Linked DNA regions of Homo sapiens: region 2 is linked to region 1. Evidence: promoter capture Hi-C in 16 types of primary human blood cells and fetal thymus (Javierre and others, 2016). All regions are on one chromosome and are shown on one strand. Each heading gives the region's core, a stretch centred on a gene start or on the middle of the fragment in contact. The rest is flanking DNA. Distances are from core to core; before and after follow the strand shown. Region 1 holds the start of SRGN (serglycin). Region 2 holds the start of TACR2 (tachykinin receptor 2).

Region 1 (6,159 bases), core at 1,963-4,462:
TATTAGAGGTGCCCGCCATCATGTCCAGATAATTTTTTTGTATTTTTAGTAGAGACAGGGTTTCACCATGTTATCCAGGCTAGTCTCAAACTCCTGACCTTAGGTGAGTGATCCGCCCACCTTGGCCTCCCAAAGTGCTGGTGTGAGCCACCCTGCCCTGCCGGCGACCCGTCACTTTATTAAACAACAGGAACTGATTTCTGTCATGTTCCAGGTGACTGTTAAGGAATAAGAATACTCATTTTATGGGCAAATAAACTGAATGTGAAGTAAAGTAGGTGCATCTCAGGTTGCCTGGTGAAAGAAGGATTAAGTCTGGTATAGGGTTTGTCTTTTAAAATTGTGGAAAACATGCATATCGTAGATTGACTTTTAGGGAAAGATGTGGGTCCTATTGGGTTAATGGCGGAATCTTTTGGTAAGATCATGCCCAGCCCTGAGGACTGTTGCCAATGCCTCCCTCACCACGTGTGCCATGTGCTCTTGAGGACATCCTGTCATTGGCTTCCCACACCATCATTACATCTGGAACAAAGGACGCATAAAAAGTGAGTGGCCCAGCGTGGCTCAGCTGGTAAGTGAAGGGCATGGGCTTGGACCCAGGACTTCCAGCTGCTGCAGCATGTGTCCTGCTCCCCTACAGCTTGAAGAGGGCTAAATGAGACTGGAGGACTTCTTAGAAAAAGAGACTTGATTATCAGCGTAGTGGGAGAAGAGCAAATGCTTATGAATACTGCACCTGTGCTTTAAAAGTCACCATGAGCTGGGCGTTGTGGCTTACGTCTGTAATCCCAGCACTTTGGGAGGCCGAGACAGGTGGATCACTTGAGGTCAGGAGTTCGAGGGCAGCTTGGCCAACATGACAAAAACCCCATCTGTACTAAAAAAAAGAAAAGAAAAGAAAAGAAAAGAAAGAAAGAAAAAAAATTAGTCAAATGCGTTTGCTTGAACCCAGGAGGTGGAGGTACACCCTGGGCGACAGAGAGAGAGAGGTAAAAAACAACAACAACACCATGACCCAGAGAAAGAAAGAAAAAAAATGAAGTTCCCAAATGGAAAAAGCCCCTAAAATTACCATTTTAAAACACAGCCCTAATCAGCTCTGGGGATTTGCAGGAAACTCATCGAAGCTATTGATAGGAACTATTGTTTTGGTGCCAGGGTTTTCAATTGGGAGTTAGATTTAAAAGGACCAAAGATGACATCTGATATTTCAAACAGAAACCGACATTTCTCAGTGGAAAACTTTCCGGGCCAGTGCATTTTGGGGTTGGTTACTGTGCTTGGAGACGCCCCTGAGTTGGAGGACACACTTCTGGCTGATGTGAGGGGCTTCTGAGGAGGGCCAAAATGTACACTCTTTGTGTTCTTGCACCACGGCTATTAGACTGTGAGACTCTGTCCTTAGCAGGAAATGGTAAAGGAATCAGCAGGAAGCCTAAAACAAGGGAAGGGAAACTCCTCCCTCCTATCAAAGGCCAGGCAAGGGCGAGGATGAGAATGGAAAGTGGGGCACGTGCATTAAGCCGTCTGGGGGAGCGGTAGGGATAGACATGTTGAAATGGAGAGTGGTTGAATCTTGAAAGGAAGTAAGGAAAATGTATATGCCACAAGGGCAAGGATGTATGATAGGCTTGTATTTATTGTATAACTTTATTTTATTTTATTTTATTATTTTTAGTTTTTTGAAATAGAGTCTCTCTCTGTCACCCAGGCTGGAGTGCAATGGCACGATCTTGGCTCACTGCAACCTCTGCCTCCCGGGTTCAAGCGATTCTCCTACCCCAGCCTCCCGAGTAGCTGGGACTACAGGCACTCGCCACCACGCCCGGCTAATTTTTTGTATTTTTAGTGGAGACGGGGTTTCACGGTGTTAGCCAGGATGGTCTCGATCTCCTGACCTTGTGATCCACCCACCTCAGCCTCCCAAAGTGCTGGGATTACAGGTGTGGACCACAGCACCTGGCCTTTATTGTATAACTTTAATATGGAGCCTTAGTCCTCCAGAAATCTGCACCATGCCCAGGGAAAATGCTGTTCCTTTATTTACATGAGGCAGAGGTTTGTGTTGTTTGCTGAGGTCCAGCAGCTCACTGTGAGGACAACCTCTCCCTCGTTCCTGATTTCTGGCTTATTCAAGGCCAGAGGACCCAAAACTCGAGTTGAAAATTTTGACTAGGAGAACAGATAAAAATAGAAATGGAATCCATCTTAAGAAATGCTCAATGTGAAGGAGAGGGGAATGCAAAATAGTTTTTCTGTTTTACCACAGTCTTTGTAACTGAAAATCCTATGTTCTTGAGATAGAGAGAGAGCCAATGATCCAATGCAAGAAACTGAGTTTAAGAAGAAACTGTTTGCTGGGCACGGTGGCTCACGCCTGTAATCCCAGCACTTTGGGAGGCTGAGGCAGGCGGATGGCCTGAGGTTGGGAGTTTGAGGCCAGCCTGGCCAACATGGTGACACGTCGTCTCTACTAAAAATACAAAATTAGTCCAGCGCAGTGGTGTACGCCTGTAATCCCAGCTACTCAGGAGGCTGAGGCAGGAGAATTGCTTGAACCCTGGAGATGGAGGTTGCAGTGAGCTGAGATCGCGCCACTGCTCTCCAGCCTGGGTGACAGAGTGAGACTCCATCTCAAAAAAAAAAAAAAAAAAAAAAAAAAGAAGAAAAAGAAGAAGAAGAAACTGTTCATCTGAAATCCGACAACTCATTCTTGAAGGTTAGAGCTCAGCTTTGAAGTTTCACTTCACGAGCTTGGCTCAGTGAGGTATGTTACTCCCCGGTGAAAAAGAAAATGAAGAGAATGTTTTATGTTGAAAGTGCTTGGTGACGAAAAGGCAGCACCTAGATCCCTTATCTCATAAAAAATGCAGCAGATTCTTAATATTAGCAATCTAGTGTTTAGATTGTTACCTGAAGAAAGGAAAAACAAACTGTCCCAAATGCTGATTCTACTGTTTCGGTGGGAAAAAAAAATGTCTTGCAGGCAAGTGGCAAACAACAAAACTTTTGAAAAAGCAGGCCTGGGGGGAGTCCAGTACAGTTTCATAATGGGTATGAATAGTTATTTTACTGTGTTCCCCCCACCCCCTTTCTTTCTGGGTTTTGATGTGGATGTCTTTCTATTTGTTCAGGAAATTGTGACGTGTGTTCTGGGCAGGGTTTGAGGTTTTGGAACATTTTCTAAAAGGGACAGAGAGCACCCTGCTACATTTCCTAATCAAGAAGTTGGCGTGCAGCTGGGAGAGCTAGACTAAGTTGGTCATGATGCAGAAGCTACTCAAATGCAGTCGGCTTGTCCTGGCTCTTGCCCTCATCCTGGTTCTGGAATCCTCAGTTCAAGGTAAGACTCAGGAGTCTTGTTCCCCAGCCATCTTCTCTGTAAGCCCTGTGGTCCATGCAAGTCATTATATTCATTTTAAGGCATAGAATGTATAATATTGTGAGAAAGGAGGCAAAGAAGAAGGATTTGGGGTCGCTGAACCCTTTAATATGAGTTCTGTTAAGTTTGGTACCAAGAAAAATTAAACTCTGTGGCGTGTGCAGTCTTGTAAACTCTTACAATGATTGAAATGTGCTATTTTGGGATGAAAATGTGAGGTTTATAAATTTTAAAAGCTCAAAAAAGGAATCTAGAAAATGACTCCTGTGCCTGTTGCATGGAGGAGATGGCACCTTTGACTGTTGGGGGGTGTCTGCCTACCCCTAAGTGTCTACATCAGCCCCAAGTTTTAGTGCGCTGTGACGGTGTCATTGTTATTTTAACACTGGGAGACGTTATATTCCAATTGGGGTGAATCTGACTGTGTGTATTTTCTTTTCTTTTTTTTTTTTTTAAAGATAAACTTGGTTCTTACTGAAAACTCAATTATGGTTAGACATAGTTCATGTAAAACCTCTCAGATTTTAAAGAGAAGGCCAAATAATTTGGTATTTGTGCTCTTGCTCAGAGAAGCATCATATTCGGAAATATCTTCCTAGGTTTATCTACCATTTAGTGTTGTTTAGTCAGACTGAAACAACTTAAAACCTGTAATGACTAAGACAATGAAAATGATAGGCTTGTAAGAAAAATACAATTTGTTATTCTTTGGCAAATAAGGAATCATGTCTAAATAAGACGGAGGTCATGGCTTGATAGAGAGATGGCTGAACCTATAGTAGAAAAACACTAGGTTCCGCCAAATGGTAAGGGAAATGTTGAGTCACAATGACACACATGTCCTAGATTTGTTTCGTCAAAGCGACTTTTGGTTGTCATGATCTTACTTCCGGTGGAGATGAAATCTTACAGATGATCGCAGAGACATTCATTTTATGTTGGAAATTTATAAAATCATTTTCTTCTAGTTATGCTAATGCTGAAAAAAGAGCAAGTAATGTTTCTGGAACGTTATTAATTTATGTATTTTTAAAATATAAAACATTGTCAATTGTAGGGAACAGGCTTCACTGGGATCTTTTAGGGAATATCTTCAGCTTGATGAAATAATTCCCGAATAGCCAAGTGGTCTGACAAGATCGAGAGTAATGAGGCCCATACTTTAGTACAGTCTTGAATGGCCAGATGGTGCTGGGCATACCCCAACCAGAGATATGTAAGTCTTTATGTTGTCAAAATTTCCCAGAAACATGAATTTCCCACTAAGATTCATTAAGGAAAACTAGAATGAAAACAAAAACGTTCCTTGTATAATATTCATTAGAAAGAAATGAAGAAGGCCGGGCATGGTGGCTCACGCCTGTAATCCCAGCACTTTGAGAGGCCAAGGTAGGCAGATCATGAGGTCAGGAGTTTGAGACCAGCCTGGCCAACATAGTGAAATCCCGTCTCTACCAAAAATACAAAAAAATTAGCCGGGCATGGTGGCACACACCTGTCATCCCAGCTACTCAGGAGGCTGAGGCAGGAGAATTGCTTGAACCTGGGAGGTGGAGGTTGCAGTGAGCTGAGATTGCACCACTGTACTACAGCCTAGGTGACAGTGCAAGACTCTGTCAGAAAGAAAGAAAGAGAGAGAGAGAGAAAGAAAGGAAAGAAAGAAAGAGAAGGAAAGAAAATAATTCATCATGAAATTGTATAGAATACTAGCATTTATGTCATGACCTCGTAGGTTTAGCTCTTTGTTAGAAAAGGAAACCATAGAAAGAGACAAGGGAGAAACTGACAAACTAGGGTGTTTCCGAAAAAAGGCTCTCAGTATCGGGCTCAAGGGCTTGTGCCCACATCTGAGCATGCAGGGAAATAGATGTCCCCCACTGGCTGCACATGTGAGTGACTGCGGCACAAGGCTGTGATGTGAAGAGTCGTGACACCATTTCCTCACACCTCCACGCAATGCCAGATATGATTCGACAACATTCTTCCTGTCTTATAAAAAGTGTTTATCTAGCCCGTTGGTTTGGCAGATGAAATCAACTAGGCTTTTGGCTTGCTTTTACTGAGCATATTCAAAACCATTTCAGGTCACTATAGTGGTTTGCTCGGGTTGCCATAACAAAGTACCACGGACTGAGTGGCTTAAATAACAGAAATGTATTTCCTCACAGTTCTGGAGATGGGAGTCCAAGATCAAGGTGCTGGCAGGGTCGATCGCATTCTGAGGCCTCTCTCCTTGGCTTATAGATGGCGCCTTCTCCCTTGTCTGCACATGGCCTTTCCTCCATGCATCCGTGTCTTAATACCATCTTCTTAGAGGGTCACCAGGCATTGGATCAGGGCCACCCTAATGGCCTCATCTTAACTACCTATATCTGCAATGACCCTATTTCTGAACAATTTCACATTGTGAGATTCTGTGGGTTAGAACTGGAACATATGAATTTGGTGGTGGTATATTTTTATTATAAGTCAAACCCAAGTAAAGATGTGGGGTAAGATTGTGTTTACCAAGCACAAAGAAATGGAAATTTGGGGATGTGTAACTCTGGAGAGCACAGATGACTAATCTATTTAATGTAGGGCTCCAGGGGATTTGATGAGGCCTGTGAATCTTCCACTTTTATTGCCTCTCTTTTCCAATGACACCCATAAAGAAAAAAAATGGAATATCCATGAACAGGTGCAGCCAAGGAGGCCAGGCCCGCCATGTGTCCACTGTATACTGTCTCCTAGCTCACAGGAATGATACTGATCCACTCCTTGTGCTGCTCTTT
Region 2 (6,159 bases), core at 1,768-4,267, 330 kb after region 1:
CTATCTCATTTATGCTCACAGAGCGAGGTACTATTATGAATCCTCATTTTAGAGAGAGAAAGCCAGAGGTTCAGAGGTTACGTGAGTGTGAGGCATCCTCCGGCCACGTGGGACCAGGCCACGACTTGGGCCTGACTGAGCCCAGAACCCCAGTCGGTTCTTTAGCCTCTACCAAGCAATGGCTCAGTGCCTGGGGACCACAAAGACACATCGTGAGATCCTCAGAAACTGAGGCCGGAATGGAGAAAGGACTCACCCAGGGTCACACAGCAGCTGGGCCATGCCTGAATTCCTCTAACCCTGCCCTCCCTGCCTCCAGCCTGTGATGCCCACCTCAGCAGCCTGAAAATGTCCCAGGCTCCATCATGGACTCGTTCTGCCTCAGTCTCCTGCCGCTTTGTGGCCTGAGCATATAGAGAGTCTCCCCCAGACACACGCCTACACATGTCCCTAACACGTGCCTGTGTGCAAACACATCTACAAATATGCCCACACACTTGCACGTGTACACACAGGCAGAAATGGGTGCCGCATGTTCACGTGACATGTACAGTCACATACACGTGTGCATGCATGCATATCCTTATCTAAGGATGCAAGGGTGCATATTTGAGTAGCAGAGTGGTGAGGAGATTGGGCCCTGGGCAGGATTGCTTAGATTTGAATCCATAGCTGGATTCAAATGACTAGCTGGATTTGAATTACTAGCTGTGTGGTTTTGGGCATGTTACTTAGTTTTTCAGTGCCTCAGTTTCTTCATCTAAAAAATGGTAAGAATAATAATATAATATATATCCCACATAGTTAGGAGAATTAAATGGGTCAATATATGTAAAGTGTGAAAAACAGATCGGCTACATCGTGTGTGTTGCTTACTAAGCATATAGGTATATTCACACAATCCCGTGTACACTCACTCATGTGTACACCCATGCATGCACACCACACATGCATGGACATGGATGCATGCACGCGTGTGTACACACACACACACAGACTCACACACACACACTGTTGCCCTCCACAATCCCCCAGAGGCCTTACAGGAGGAGCGTCTTGCCCCCGCTGTCTTCGGGCCAGGCCACCACGCACTTGGTGGCACCCTGGTCCATGGTGACGGTGGAGTAGAAGCACTGAGGGGAGGCCAGGGCGAGAGCCACCAGCCAGATGCCAGCAATAACCGCCTTGGTGCTGGGAGCTGAAAGCCGAGGCTGGAAGGGGTGGACGATGGCCATGTACCTGTGAGCAGAGGGCAGCTTGAGCGGCAGGGGCCCTCCTGTTAGCCCAGCTCCCTTTCCCCTGTCTCCCTCTCTCCCAACCCAGGCCCACGCCTTCTAGCCATTCCCCGCACTGCTGCCATCTGCTGATATCATAGTATCAGCCGACCTGCAGAGAGCCCGCTGGGTGACTCTCCCACAGCCACACAGCACACTGATGCCTTGGAACCCCGGCCCAGGCACCTCGGCCCACCATTTCCCTCTGGGCATGGACATGCCCGTGGACGGCCACAAGAAAGCCACACTGGAAGCCCATCTCAGGGCAAGATCAAGCATCCAACATTAGCCTGAAGCTCAGCCCTGAGCAGCGTTGGGAAAATAATTGGCCCTATTAGATTGTAACTGCAAGCAAACTTAACATTTTCCCCTCGTGTAATCTATCCGGAATAATAAAAAAAAAACTGTATAAGACATATCTTTGGAGTGAAATAAAGACAACAAAACAAAGATCAACTCCAGGAAAGAACACTTCAGAAGGTCGCTAAAACATTGCCCACTTCCCCTACAGACTTGAACAACCTGTCTAGTGCATCTAGTGCAAAGTCCTTCTCTGTGTCTAACCCTCAGTCTACCTTCTTCAGCTCCACAGTCCCCCTGCCTTCCAGATTCATAGTTTTGGACCATGACCAGATTTGGGAAGCCATTCCCATGGTTCTACCCAAACTTGCTGTGTAATCACAGGCATGTCACCACCCTTATCTGAGCCCCGGCTCAGTGGGGAGGCTCCCCCCAGCTTCCCCAAGGACCCTCTTGCCTGTCGGCAGCAATGGCGGTCATGGAGTAGATGCTGACAAACATGGCTGTGATGGGGAAGAGGTTCTGGAAGTAGCAGAAGGCACGGCCAAAGTACCAGATGTTGTGGCTGGCATAGACAAAGTTGAAGGCGGCATTGAAGGCAGCCATGCAGAGGTCAGCCAGCGCCAGATTGACGATGAAGTAGTTGGTGACTGTGCGCATCCTCCGATGGGCCAGGATGATCCAGATGACGATGGCATTACCCGTCACGGCCACCAGCACCAGGGCCAGGTAGGCTGTGGCCCACAGTGCCAGTTGCCAGCTGGGCATGGAGAAGGCTGTGATGCCCGTGGTGTTGCTCTCAGGGCCAGATGAGATATTGGCTTCAGTCACAATGTCACAGGTCCCCATGGCTGCTTCTGGGTCTGGAACAAAGGACCTGGCTCCTCGGCTCCTCTCGGATTTGCTATGAAAGAGAACTCCCCTTCAGAGCATGGGAATATGGGGGCAGGGAGAGGAGCAGATGCCAAGCGTGGTGGCACATCAGGAGAGCCTGGGGCCACTCCTAGGTCTCAGGCAAAGATGAGCTGGGCTGAGCACAAAGCCCAGTCCAGAACCATTGTCATTTCAGATTCCATCCTTCCGGCCAGACTTCTCGAATATCATGTGGAAACACAGAATTCAAATCACAGTGTCAGAGCAGAAAACACCCTTATAAATCAACCCCTTCGCTGAAGAGATGGAAGACAGAGATTCCAAGAGGGGACGGGACCAGCCCAGGTCACTCAGGAAGTTGGTGACAAGTTAGGACTCGAACCCAGGTTTCTCGTCACGTAATTCAGGAAACCTTCCAGATCAGAGGAATGCACAGCGGGAGTCTCTGGAGTCCACAGGTCAATGGCGCAGCAGCCTCTCTCCAGGCTTTGGGCTGCAAGCCGGGCTGGGTGCTGGGTGCTCAGGGCTCTGCCAGCTGCCAGCCCTCGCTGCAGCTTCCCTGCCGTTCTCTGGGGCAGGGCCAGTGGGGGCCTTGGCAGAGGTGCTGCCTGCTCACGAGGGGGGGCTTTGGCTCCCGCCCCTGGTCCCACCCCCTGCTTGGCCTTGTCTCTTGAAAGATTTAGGACTGGCTGCAGAGGCAGGGAGAGACTTGGGGGAGATGGGGCTGGTACAGAGGGCCCAGCTCTCGGCGGATGTTGACTTTCAGCCCAGGACAGGAGCTACGTCTGAAGAGTGATTCTGAATACAGAAGGAGTTCGAGCCTGGTTTGGTGACTCCAGGCAAGTCTCTTAACCTTTCTGAGCTCTGTCTACCCCATCTGAAAAATATAGAAAAATGGTGTGCATCTTACAGTACATTTGTGAATTTTAAATGGAGATAATGTGCACAAAGTCTACTTAGCACAGGGGTTGGTACATAAAAACTATGATTGGAGTTTCTGGCCCGAAGGGAGGACCCCACAGCTCTGGGCGCTCTAGGAGGAGAAGCCAGAACCCGGAGCGTTTCCAGCGAGTTCCCAGGTGATACTGATGCTGCTGGAGCCAGCACTTCACTTTGAGAACCACTGTCTTAGGACAAAGTCAGGGCTCTTCCGGGAACCACAGCAAAGCTGGAGTTTTAACTCCTGAGAAGCTGCTCTAGGTTTGCCCCAAGATCCCTGCTCCTGGTCATTGACTGTGTGCACGTGTGTGAAGCAGTGAAGATGTTTCTGAGCAACTGTATGTGCGGCTGACGTGTTAAGCTCACACACACGCATGAACCTGTGCACACCTGTGGTGTGTGGACCATGAAGGCAGGGCAGGATTAGCGGGAGTCGGGGGGGCATGTTCTTCATTAAAGCAGAGGAGGCTTCTCATTCACCAGCAACCCACGGCACAGCAGCCTCTGTGCTCCCAGGGCTCTGCCTTGCACCGCCTGGGTTTCTCGTGGCTGGGCCTCGGCCCCCACACTCCCAGTCCATTTTCTGCTTCTCCCTGTGTGTCACTTTCCTGACACCCAGCCCTTGTCTCCCGGGGTGAGCTGAGAAAGACCTTTAAAGGTCTCTAGTGCTGAAAAGATTATGCCACCCATGGAATCCAATATAAAAACAACACTAAACCATAAGTCATGAAACTTAAACATGCTGAAATTGAAAGAGCTTCTTTATGGATTTTTCTGATTATGAACTTCTGGGTAAGTTCATCGACAATCAACACTGAAATTGTATCTATTGTTTGGTCTCCCTGCTGTGCAGATGTGAGGAGCATGTGCTGGGTCGAATGGGAACCCCATCCTTGCCCTTGGGGAGGGAGTGCTTCCTGGGCCCCTACTCCTCCCGTGGGTGTGTGCCTGTGTGCCTGTTTCCTCTCTGGAGTGGCCTGTTTGGACTTTGGACCCTAGCAGAAGGGTCTCTGCCTTTGATCTCTGTTGGTGGCGGCAACAGTAGCAGTACTTTAGGGTTTGCTTCTGTCTCATGCCCATCTGGCCAGGGTCCTAAAGAGCAGAATGTGTAGAAATAAGAATGGAAGCCCAAGACAGCCTGCTCTTTTTGCTGTCCTCCTGCTCCCAGGCAGTGGGAATTTGTTGAGCTTCAGGTGCAAACCCAGTGCAGGGCTGGGATGCCTGAGCGCCTGTCACCAGTCACAGAAGCCCAGCAGAGTTCAAGTTCCTTCCTCCCCACAACATCCCGCCACCTCCACTGTTTATGTAAAGGGGATTATGTTTTGGAGCTTGTACATCTGAGTTTTTATTTTCCCCTTAAATTATCTGCTCTTGCAGCCTTCCAACTATGTGCTATGGTTTGAAGCCTCGTGAAAGGGGAAGATGCGGGCCACCCAGGATGAAGGGGTTCCTGATCAGCTTTGCTGCTTGGCACTGGCCTTCTGAGTCCATAGCTAGACAGCGATCCCGAAGGCCAGTCCTTATTTTATTTTATTATTTTAGATGGAGTCTCACAGTGTCGCCCAGGCTGGAGTGCAATGGCACGATCTTGGCTCACTGCAACCTCCGCCTCCTGGGTTCAAGCGATTCTCCTGCCTCAGCCTCCTAAGTAGCTGGGATTACAGGTGTATGCCACCACACCTGGCTAATTTTTGTATTTTTTTAGTAGACAGGGTTTCACCATGTTGGTCAGGGTGGTCTTGAACTCCTGACCTCAGGTGATCCACCTGCCTCAGCCTCCCAAAGTGCTGGGATTACAGGCATGAGCCACTGCGCCTGGAAGGCCAGTCCTTTTAAAGGAGAAAAAAAAATGCCGGGCACGGTGGCTCACACCTGTAATCGCACACCTGAGCTGATGGTGCCAGTTGCGTGCATCCAGGAAGCAGACCCTGCTGTGTAAGAAACACACCAGCTGTTTCTCAGGGAGCTACCACTGGGGTCAACACTTGGGGCAGCAGACAAGGCAGGAAGCAAGTGTGGCTGAAGCACGGCATCGTGCTGTGGTCCAGGCCTACAATAGCCTTGGTAACCCCATGGGTAATTGGAACTGGGATAGCTTCAGAGTTGCCCCGTGTGGGGCAAAGTTAACCAGGCCTTTATATTTCCACATTGGTCACTGGACGTGGGCCACCCCAAGAAATCATGTGATTGTTGTCAAGGCAGTTGAGGCGAGGCCTGCAGTCGGGGACGCTAAACATGGTGCTGGTACTATATGCCTGCCCGGCAGCTTGAAGGGGGCCTGGGAAGCGCAGGGCAACGTCCACACAGCTAGACAGCAGCCACTCCTTCAGACGGGCGTGCGCTGGCAACTGTGCCTTGCTGGTTGGTGTAATTGTGACCTCTGGGCTAGAGGCTTAAAGACCAGAGTTGGGAGAGGAATGATCTTCCAGGGAGTTTGAGGAAGAAAAGGTGGGAGAGCTGTGGTGTGTGAGAGAAGTGGGTGGGAGAGGAAAGGCGGCTCCAGAAAGCACTGTGGATGAGGCGTTGCTATCAGCGCCTGGGGGATGCTCTTGAGAGTGGCCTATCTCTGTTTGGGAGGCTGCTCTGGGCCCTAGCTTCAGAGGTCACAGACAGCATCGCGGGACACTAGCGCTGAGGGTCACCCTGTCACCAGGGCAATGCTGGGGGTGCCAGGAGGTGGCCGAAGTGAGAGGAGGACGTGGGGTTGGCAAAGGGTCAGCCCCTCTGCTGAAAGGCTCCAGTCCTGTGCCCGGTGGTGGGTCTGACCCTGAGC

What was found. The method cuts DNA at HindIII sites, captures the fragments that hold promoters and counts their contacts. A CHiCAGO score of 5 or more calls a contact.
Region 2: a contact is called between the fragment with the promoter of TACR2 here and the fragment with the promoter of SRGN in region 1, in 3 of 17 cell types (erythroblasts, fetal thymus and M0 macrophages). The highest score is 12.2, in erythroblasts.

The regions. Positions count from the first base shown.
Region 1 is chr10:69,084,891-69,091,049 of GRCh38, forward strand. SRGN (serglycin) reads left to right here and starts at 3,213. Exons shown (of 3, transcript NM_002727.4): 1 at 3,213-3,346. The coding sequence starts at 3,268. RefSeq lists enhancers at 1,527-1,696, 3,344-4,543 and a silencer at 5,242-5,421. The HindIII fragment of the contact is 21,371 bases long and covers 1-6,159 here.
Region 2 is chr10:69,413,901-69,420,059 of GRCh38, forward strand. It overlaps TACR2 (tachykinin receptor 2), which reads right to left and starts at 3,018. Exons shown (of 5, transcript NM_001057.3): 1 at 2,032-3,018; 2 at 1,045-1,239. The coding sequence starts at 2,423. RefSeq lists enhancers at 2,788-3,522, 4,273-4,567. The HindIII fragment of the contact is 12,893 bases long and covers 1-6,159 here.